Linked DNA regions of Homo sapiens: region 1 is linked to region 2. The links are contacts of gene promoters, found by promoter capture Hi-C in blood cells and fetal thymus (Javierre and others, 2016). All regions are on one chromosome and are shown on one strand. The core of a region is centred on a gene start or on the middle of the fragment in contact, and the rest is flanking DNA. Distances in the headings are between cores, read along the strand shown.

Region 1 (5,161 bases), core at 274-2,773, 510 kb after region 2:
TCCCAGCTATTTTGGAGGCTGAGGCAGGAGAATCACTTGAACCCAGGAGGCGGAGGTTGCAGTGAGCCGAGATCGTGCCACTGCATTCCAGCCTGGGCAGCAGAGTGAGACTCCAACTCAAAAAAAAAAAACAAAAAACCTCAAACTAAGCATCTTCAAAACTGAGGTCTACTCTTCTCCTCACTCCAAACCAAACCTCCTCCTACAGTTTTTTAATCTCAGTTCATGGCAACTCCATGAACTCCATATATAAGCCTCATAAGGGTTTATTGTTGTATCTTCAATGCCAAACAAAATGTGTGGCAAAAAGTAGGTTGAACAAATGAATTGATGAATAAATATTGTGTTTCTGTCTCAGTTCATGCTCTGATTTCTTCACATCTTTAAAAAATGGTAAAGTAGATACCTTACTTAAAAAGATTCTGACTAATTGAATGTAATGATCAACACTGTAGCTCGAGCATACAGGGCCTGTTACTATACCAAATACTGTGTTGAGTTCCTTGCATTCTCTGCCTCTCCCACCCAACAATTAGCCTACAAGTGCTATACAAGTAGTTCTCTGACACTGTTAGCCTCCTGAGTCCGAGCCTTCACTACCTACATCCCCTCCCTCTTCATCCCATATGGCCATTCTCTCTCCATATGTGCATACAAACCTTTTGGGAATCCATTGCATATGTCACATTTTTTAAACAGGTTATCCTGTGATGCACATTAGACATTTCTAAGACCATTTACTACAAGGTTGATTTTTCTTTGAGAACTTATTATATTTACTTTTGGACTCAACACATTTTTTCTCATTAAGCTTCTCAAGTCATCTCTCCTTACTCATCAGACAAATGCCATTCCAGGTGAGGAATTTTGTGTCCTAAAAGCCTGAGTTTTTAAAGAGCTATTTGCAAATTATTGTTATTTTCTGGATCTGACTGACATACCAGGTGAGAGTTGTCAGCTGTTAGCTGACAGTTGCAAATCCAGGGGCCTTAAGTCAAGACTCCAGATAAGAAACACAGCAGCCCAAACTAAAGGTACTATTTCCAAATACATGTCTAGGTATTTGCTTCTCTTTTTTTAGAATAAGATCAGATTATATATAAATTATATTATTGCATAGTATCTCTTTCATAAGGTCTGTTATGGTGATAAAAATCAATAAATATATGTGAAGTGCTTAGAACAGTACAATGCAATTTAAGTATGTGTTGCTATTTTCTTTTCCTTAAGATGACTAATTATTTAATAGTCTAAGTGGGTACTATATTAGGGTTCTCTACAGGGACAAAATTAATGGAATAGACATATATATAAAGGGGAGTTTATTAAGTATTAATTCACATGATCACAAGGTCTCACAATAGGCCGTCTGTGGGCTGAGGAGCAAAAAGAGCCAGTCTGAGTTCCCAAACTGAAGAACTTGGAGTTCGATGTTTGAGGACAGGAAGCACCCAGCCTGGGAGAAAGATGTAGGCTGGGAGGCTAGGCCAGTCTCTCTTTTCAGATTTTTCTGCCTGCTTATATTCTAGCTGTGCTGGCAGCTAATTAGATTGTGCCCACCCAGATTAAGGGTGGGTCTGCCTTTCTCGGCCCACTGACTCAAATGTTAATCTCCTTTGGCAACACCCTCACAGACACACCCAGGATCAATAATTTAATCCATGATTGAATCCTTCAATTCAATCAAGTTGACACTCAGTATTAACCATCACAGGTATACTCTCTTAAATTAGAATCCAAAATATAATCTTCATGTGCTGTTGTTATTAATATTTCAAATCTTTGGTAGATTAAAATAATATGACTTAAGTAGTTTAAATTCACAGTGTAATTGTAACTATACATATGTTTGGAAACCTGGATATATCAATGCAGTATGTGAGACAGGAAAATAATTAGGTTACAAAGACAGTACAGATCTAATAATTCTGTCCTGTTGGAGCACATAACAGAAGAAAAACACACGAGAGGTAACACTGAGACCTAATAAAAACAACCAAAAGGAACTGCCCAGCAGAGAGGAAGAGACTCAGACGCAGCAGTTTTGGCCGCGTAACTGATTGACTAAGCAACCTGAAGCCTGTCATGAATCGGTGTTTTATTCAAATGTGAATAAAGATGACTGCCCCAAATTTTAGTTACCACGGTGTGAAAACATTCATTTTTCACTGTCAGTCAGAAAATATAAATTCTCTGTTAGCTATGTCTCCAGACACACTCTCAGCCATGGCTGGAATAAGCTTTGATTCCATCTAGGCTGGGAGTGTAAACTACTCATTTCCTCACACTGTACCACGGCTATCCCAATACAGGCCTCCAGGAGGCAGTGTCTCTTCATTTTAACTGAGTGCATGAATTCTGCCAGTTCTTCAATATACTTAACTTCTGTCTTCATTCTCCTAGGAAACCTTTCTAGTCCAAGAGAAAGTATTCTGTAATGGTAGCCCTCCCACTGGCCCACCCATCATGGAATAATGCATCATGACTTTGCTAGGTTGGGTGAGTTCGTTCAAAGGTCACACACAGGCCTTTGGTTTCGGGAAAGGTAGAGAGAAAGGGACCACAATTTTGAGAGTAAAAGGACAGGAATGATTTTATGTTTGCAGCACTTGAGGGAAGATGTGATTTTTAAAACAGAGCTTAAAAACCTAAACAAACAAAAAATTCTTGGCCCTCATATGTGTATAGGTTGTCCTAAGGAATGCCTTTATTGCTTTACATATGACAACCAAAGTTCCTGTTGAGACCTCAGGTTGACACTTTGTTACTTTTCCCACTGAAAGTTGCTTTTGATGTTCGTTCGCACTGATTTTTACCTTCAACCAAGCCCTTGGATGTGATGTTAGCCATTGCCACTATCAAATACCCTAGAAGAGTGGATATAACCCTTTTTTGATGAGTGTCTTTGAAGTTCCAATGAGATACATGTATATTGCTGAACCTACACATATGTATATATCTTTATGCTTTGCTAACAATTTCAAGGATCTCCTAGACTTTGTTCAGTAAAGTCTTCTAGGTGAAGAAGAGAGAGCCCCTTACAGCTCTCTCACTGCTATCCTAGGTCAATTAGATTAGTCTGGTAATTAAGTGGTTTTTTGTGAACCAGTAACTGTATTGAAAGTCAAATATCAACAATTCAGGAAAACTGTCTTTGACTTCTTTATTTGGAAATATTCTATGAAGAGAGAATTTTTAATCACCACATAGGACTGATGTTTTATTTGTAGTTTGATCACCAGGTAACTGCTTCATTCATGCATTTCATTTATTTTTACTATCATTACCTCGCTTTACATAATAATATTTAACAATTACTGTAATCAGAACACTATTCACACTTTAACCAAGTGTCTTTTATGACACTCCTGAGAAAGAGATATCTCTTCTGGATAACCAAGCCAGAGAAGAATAGTTCAATAGCTTTATTACTATGATAGTGAAAGTTGATATCAATGCTAAATTGATGACTCTCTATCCTAGGATCATCAAACCACACCTTTCTCCTTTATAAAAGTCAGCAATACTTCCACATTTGCTAATTTCATAAATGATTTAGTAATATCAACTAATACAAAGTATTTGCAAAGCATCTGAAAAAAGTCATTTTCAGACAAAATCCTCATCAAGCTTAAAATTTCATGTCCTAAATTTAGAATATTATAGTCACAAAAACTACCTCCATTTTATCATAAAGTGTCTATTGATGTCACCACCACTGTCATTGTTGCAATTGTCATTCATTGGTTCAAGCTTTAAGATCAGAGTGGCACCTAGTGGTACATTCTTTTTCTTTTCCCCCTCTTTTGTTCTGCTTCAAATTATCAACAGGTACACTTTGAATACACATTGAGTACTCATTATAACAACTTTATTAATGAAATGCTTACTACCACCACTTCCCTAAACTTATAGAAACAAATCATTTTGGAATTTGAAATCTCATATTTTGAAAATACGTGACACGAAAATGTTGTTGACAGAACGGAAGCTCATTGGTAATATTTACTGACAATGAAAGTTCTAAAATGGAATATAAAAATGAGATGTTTCTTTAAAAATCAAGAAATGTAAAAGGCATGCTAATATGATAACGGCCATCCCAAGACAATAACTCAAGAATTAACTGTCTGCAAATAATCATCTGTGAAACAGTACCTTGACTTTAAAGTCCTTAAAAATGCAAGCATGAAGATAACGGAGCTAATCATACTAATTAACTCACTGTGCCTTGTAACAAATTAATTTTGAGTAAAGGAACAGGCAACTAGAGAAAAAGGCCAAAATCTCAATTAGTTAATCTGAATAGAACATAAATACTCTCAGAACTTTTTTGGCCTTTAGAATAAGAGTAGAACCGGGAGGGTGGGAGCAGTGATCACTCCATGCTGACAGCCTGGAATTGTTATTTATGGCACCGTTTTTCAGTTCTACATTCCAATGCGAGAATTTACCACGTTTGGGCAGCAGAACATGACAGGTTGACGTAGACTATCCATAACAGGCTCCACCCTCAGAGAACTAATCTAACCTGAAACTTTAACAAGCTCTTCCTATTACTAGGAATAATAGCTTAGCTTCTGTTTAAAATGTGTTCCTGACAGGCAAACTTTGTAGACTAGGTCCTGCTCAGTACCATCAGCATTCATTTTTAGTCAGCAAGTTCTAGGTAAGAGTCCTTTGCATACCTGCTACCATTTTTCAAAGACTATATCACCATTCTAATAAATGCTGATATTGTGAATGTTTAGAAAGTAAAAATATAAAGTAAGAGTCACTCCTTACTCCTAGAGGATCTAGTTCTTGTATCTGCCCATTCCTGTCTCCTCAGCTTCTTCTTCCACAGGTTTGAGCTTCCATGTCTTCAAAGGTACTCAGGTGTTACCGGCTGAAAAGCTGTGTTTCACTGATGCTACCACGTCTCTCTCCAGCCACCACCCTCAAGGTAGCCTTCCTTTCACAAAGTTCTTTAAAGGATATTCTAAATACAGTGTTTTCATGCTCTCACACACACACACACCTTAAAATTCCTGTCATAACCAGCCCCTCCCACACCACATTCATAAATATAAATAAATGAAATAAAATAAAATAAAATAAAATAAAATAAAATAAAATAAAATAAAATAAAATAAAATAAAAATCAGGCTTCCCAAACTAC
Region 2 (5,125 bases), core at 1,273-3,772:
TAATTTGAAAATAGCTGCAACCCCAATCCACCTTCCTGGTGGCCCAGAAATGCCACCCTTTTTGTTTGTTTGTTTGTTTTTGTTGTTCATAGATTAGTTCACAAATACAATAATTAGAAATACATGACTGGGCTGAGCACGGTGGCTCACACGGGTAATACCAGCACTTTGTGAGGCTGAGACAGGAAAATTGCTTGAGCTAGGAATTCCACACCAGTCTGTGCAAGATAGGAAGACCCCATCTCTACAAAAACCTTAAAAATTAGCCAGGCATCGTGGGGCACACCTGTAGTCCCCAGCTACTCCAGAGGCTAAGGTGGGAGGATCACTTGAGCCTGAGACATCAAGGCTACAGTGAGCTGTGATTGTGCCACTACACTCCAGCCTGGGTGATAGAGCAAAACCCTGTCTCAAAATAATAATAATAATAATAATAATAATAATAATAATAATAATTTAAAAATAAATACATAACTGAAAAGATTTAATAATGCTGCATAGCTTATATCCATCTCAATCCCTCTCTTTGTCTTTCTCTCATGCTTTTTAAAATTGAAGTAAAACTCCCATAATATAAAATTTATAATTTTAGTCATTTTTGAAGTGTACAATTCAGGGATTTTTAGCATATTCACAATGTTATGCAATCATCACCACTATCTAATTCCAGAACATTTTCACCACTCAAAAAAGAAAGCTCATACCCATTAAGCAGTCCTTCCTCTTTCCCCTCTGCCCCCAGCCCCTGGCAACCACTAACGTACCTTGTCTGTATGTATTGCCTGCCCTGGGCATGTCATATAAATGGAATCATGCCACACGTGGCCTTTTGTGTCTGGCTTCTTTCCCTTTGCATAGTGTTTTCAAGCTTCGTCTACGCTGAAGCAGGTATTAGTACTTCATTTCTTTTTATGGTTGAATACTATTCCATTGTATGGATATACCACAATTTATTAATTCAGCAATTGATGGATATTTGGATTGTTTCTAATTTTTGGCTATTATGAATAGTGCTGCTATGAATGTTCATGCACAAGTTTTTGATTAAACACCTGTTTTCAATTTTGAGGAGTAAATAGAAGTGGAATTGCTGGCTCATATGGTCATTCTTTTAAACTTTTAAACTTTTTAAGCAATTGCCAAAATTTTTTTCTGAAGTTGCTGCATCATTTTTTATTCCCACCAGCAATGTATGAGTGTTCTAATTTCTCCACATTCTCACTAACGTTTATTTTTTGTTTTTAAAAATGTTCTTATAGCCATCCTAGTGGGTGAAAAGTGGCATCTCAAAAAAATAAAAATAAAAAGCATTCTCACGTCAGGTCTTAAGTTTTCTTCTTTTGTATATGAGGCCACAAAATTGAGAGAAATTTTCCCTAAGATGAGCTGAAAGTGAATTTAATGAAATTCTGAACAACAGAGCTGTTTTTCACTGACTCCCATCACACACTTCCCAAAGAGCAACCATGATCAAAGCCAAGGCATCTAAATAATGACTGTTGAAATCCAAGCTCCCAGAGGTACAGATAGTCAGGTGTCTTTAGTCAGTGATTGGCAGAGGCATCTAAGGCATTATATGAGGCTTGGCTAGTAAAATGCTCTTCTGGGATTCTGGGACAATACCCACTCTCTTTTCTTTTAACTTAATGAACATTTATTTTCTCTCCATATGTGCTGTATTTGTAAAGGAAAAATAAATATAACTAAACACCAATTGTACATTCCACTTTAAAGAAGGCAATTTGTTCAGGTAAAATAATGGGTTAAAACAGTTTCAGCCGTATGAAATTTCAAATTCCATCCTAGCACATTCCTCATTAATAATTGCACACATTCCTATGAAAGTCTGTCATTTATTTTAGTCTTTGATTGCTATCATCAACACACTACAGAAGTTATTCTTTCCTGTTCAAGACAATTAGTTTTGGGAACTAAAACACATGCAGTATATGTAAGTGATTACCTGGATAAAGCAACAGGGCATTAGGAAATATACTTTTTTGTTTTTAATTTCTGCATCCATTTCTTCATTCTGGACCGGTACAGATAGCCTCCATGAGGAGTTTAGCCTCTCCTTGGAGTAAACTCTACTGAGAGGAGGAAAACTGAGACTTACAGTACAGCGGGCACAGCCTGGTTGAGGAGAAGGAGAAACTAAGGAAAAACTGGAGACAGCAAAGCTTGAAGGAGGCAGAGCACTAAGCTGCTGCGGGTCACTCTTCCTGTGAACAGGCTAGTTTCAAATAAAGGCTTGCAGGGATCTTACCGAGCAAAGCAACGTTTATGAAAAGGAACAGGGAAGTTGCATGGAGTGTGATTCTTCCTTCCACAGGAACAGTTGGAAAGCCAAAGAGACCCTAGAGTAAGAATGGTGGTAAGTCCCAGGGTTCGTTTAAAATCCTGATAACGGAACATACATTCTTTCTTACGGGAAAACCGTTTTGATTCTTAAATGAAGTCAGTGAGCTTCAGGCTTGCCTACATTGATATCTCCTAATGGTTTGGGCACGTGACCCAGAGCCAGCTCACAAATCAAGCCTCAGAAAGAGCTGACATCCTAGCTCTTCCCGGAAAAACTCGAATGTCGCCCTGCCGTTCCTGGGGTTGGTGACAGGTCTGGTCATCGCACGGCGGCAGCTCCTCACCTGGATTTAGAAGAGCTGGCGTCCCCGCCCGCCCAAGCCTTTAAACTCTCGTCTGCCAGAACCCGCCAACTCTCCAGGGTACAAAGTACAGCAGGGACGCGGGTGGAGCCCTTCCAAGCGGCGCAGCCTTATCTTTCCCGAGTGAACACCTAGGTGGATTCCCAACACCGCGCCTGGCACGTTTCTGGAGGGAGTCTCAAGCTCCTCCAGAGCTCCCAGCTGCGCGTCCTCGTTTCTGCAGTCGATATTCCTGTGGGAGACACGGGGGGCTCTGAGCGCTACGAGCTTTATTAAGAGATTTGCGAATGGTTCACTCAGGTCCCTGAACACTCCCAATAGCCTAAGCTGCCTGCTGTGTTATAGCGCAGAAGCCCCTAACGCACGGTGGTTGTCCTTTCTTCTCATAACGCTCGCAGCTTAGGGCCAGTTTCCGCGATTCTAAGAGTAATTGCGTGGGCACCTGTGCTGGGGCCAGGCGCAAAGAAGGGAGTTGGTCTGCGCGAAGATCGTCAACCTGCTAACAGACCGCACATGCACTTTGCACCGACCATCTACGTCTCAGTCTGGAGGTTGCGCACTTTGGGTAAGGAGGGCCCGGAACTTCCCTGGCGGGTCTGAGCTGCAAGGCAAGCGAGGGTGGGAAGAGGGAATTTAGGGTTCTGGACTGCGGGACGGGAGAGAAGCTGGGGTCTCCAGAGAAAAGGGCAGCAATGGAGGGAAACTGAGATGAACTCCAGACATCCATGTTCATGGATCCGTTTGAGTCTTTGCTTTGGGTAGGAGAGGAGTGGAATGAGACAGAATCTATACCTTTGGTTCCCACCCGCCCTCCAGTAAGGCCGAGGAACTCTCTTGGTTCCTCTGAGAGCAAGAGGCAGATGGTGCTGCGAGGGAACCCCGGAAGGAGCCACTAAAGTTGAGCAGAGTGCAGGACTGGGAAGGAAAAAAATGGGGGGCGGGGGGGACAAGCCACCTATGTGCTCTCCTCCCTTTCTCCACCCCACCCCCTTTTTTCGTAGCTGCTGACGCGCTGGTGGTGCCTATTAATCATTTACCAGTCCAGAGCCGCGCCAGTTAATGGCTGTGCCGTGCGGTGCTCCCACATCCTGGCCTCTCCTCTCCACGGTCGCCTGTGCCCGGGCACCCCGGAGCTGCAAACTGCAGAGCCCAGGCAACCGCTGGGCTGTGCGCCCCGCCGGCGCCGGTAGGAGCCGCGCTCCCCGCAGCGGTTGCGCTCTACCCGGAGGCGCTGGGCGGCTGTGGGCTGCAGGCAAGCGGTCGGGTGGGGAGGGAGGGCGCAGGCGGCGGGTGCGCGAGGAGAAAGCCCCAGCCCTGGCAGCCCCACTGGCCCCCCTCAGCTGGGATGTTCCCCAATGGCACCGCCTCCTCTCCTTCCTCCTCTCCTAGCCCCAGCCCGGGCAGCTGCGGCGAAGGCGGCGGCAGCAGGGGCCCCGGGGCCGGCGCTGCGGACGGCATGGAGGAGCCAGGGCGAAATGCGTCCCAGAACGGGACCTTGAGCGAGGGCCAGGGCAGCGCCATCCTGATCTCTTTCATCTACTCCGTGGTGTGCCTGGTGGGGCTGTGTGGGAACTCTATGGTCATCTACGTGATCCTGCGCTATGCCAAGATGAAGACGGCCACCAACATCTACATCCTAAATCTGGCCATTGCTGATGAGCTGCTCATGCTCAGCGTGCCCTTCCTAGTCACCTCCACGTTGTTGCGCCACTGGCCCTTCGGTGCGCTGCTCTGCCGCCTCGTGCTCAGCGTGGACGCGGTCAACATGTTCACCAGCATCTACTGTCTGACTGTGCTCAGCGTGGACCGCTACGTGGCCGTGGTGCATCCCATCAAGGCGGCCCGCTACCGCCGGCCCACCGTGGCCAAGGTAGTAAACCTGGGCGTGTGGGTGCTATCGCTGCTCGTCATCCTGCCCATCGTGGTCTTCTCTCGCACCGCGGCCAACAGCGACGGCACGGTGGCTTGCAACATGCTCATGCCAGAGCCCGCTCAACGCTGGCTGGTGGGCTTCGTGTTGTACACATTTCTCATGGGCTTCCTGCTGCCCGTGGGGGCTATCTGCCTGTGCTACGTGCTCATCATTGCTAAGATGCGCATGGTGGCCCTCAAGGCCGGCTGGCAGCAGCGCAAGCGCTCGGAGCGCAAGATCACCTTAATGGTGATGATGGTGGTGATGGTGTTTGTCATCTGCTGGATGCCTTTCTACGTGGTGCAGCTGGTCAACGTGTTTGCTGAGCAGGACGACGCCACGGTGAGTCAGCTGTCGGTCATCCTCGGCTATGCCAACAGCTGCGCCAACCCCATCCTCTATGGCTTTCTCTCAGACAACTTCAAGCGCTCTTTCCAACGCATCCTATGCCTCAGCTGGATGGACAACGCCGCGGAGGAGCCGGTTGACTATTACGCCACCGCGCTCAAGAGCCGTGCCTACAGTGTGGAAGACTTCCAACCTGAGAACC

Evidence for each region. Contacts are between HindIII fragments. The CHiCAGO score rates a contact against its expected background, and 5 or more counts as called.
Region 1: a fragment that was not itself captured here is called in contact with the fragment with the promoter of SSTR1 in region 2 in 1 of 17 cell types (endothelial precursors); the score reaches 6.3 in endothelial precursors.

Annotation. Positions count from the first base shown.
Region 1 is chr14:38,719,712-38,724,872 of GRCh38, forward strand. No RefSeq gene overlaps it. Among named protein-coding and RNA genes, the nearest start is that of LINC00639, 190 kb to the right of the region's middle. The HindIII fragment of the contact is 1,429 bases long and covers 810-2,238 here.
Region 2 is chr14:38,205,382-38,210,506 of GRCh38, forward strand. SSTR1 (somatostatin receptor 1) reads left to right here and starts at 2,523. Exons shown (of 3, transcript NM_001049.3): 1 at 2,523-2,723; 2 at 3,062-3,228; 3 at 3,665-5,125. The coding sequence starts at 4,009. It overlaps LOC124903303 (a long non-coding RNA gene), which reads right to left and starts at 3,906. Exons shown (of 2, transcript XR_007064117.1): 1 at 3,701-3,906; 2 at 1,834-2,895. RefSeq lists enhancers at 2,325-2,986, 3,970-4,673, 4,674-5,125. The HindIII fragment of the contact is 9,392 bases long and covers 2,179-5,125 here.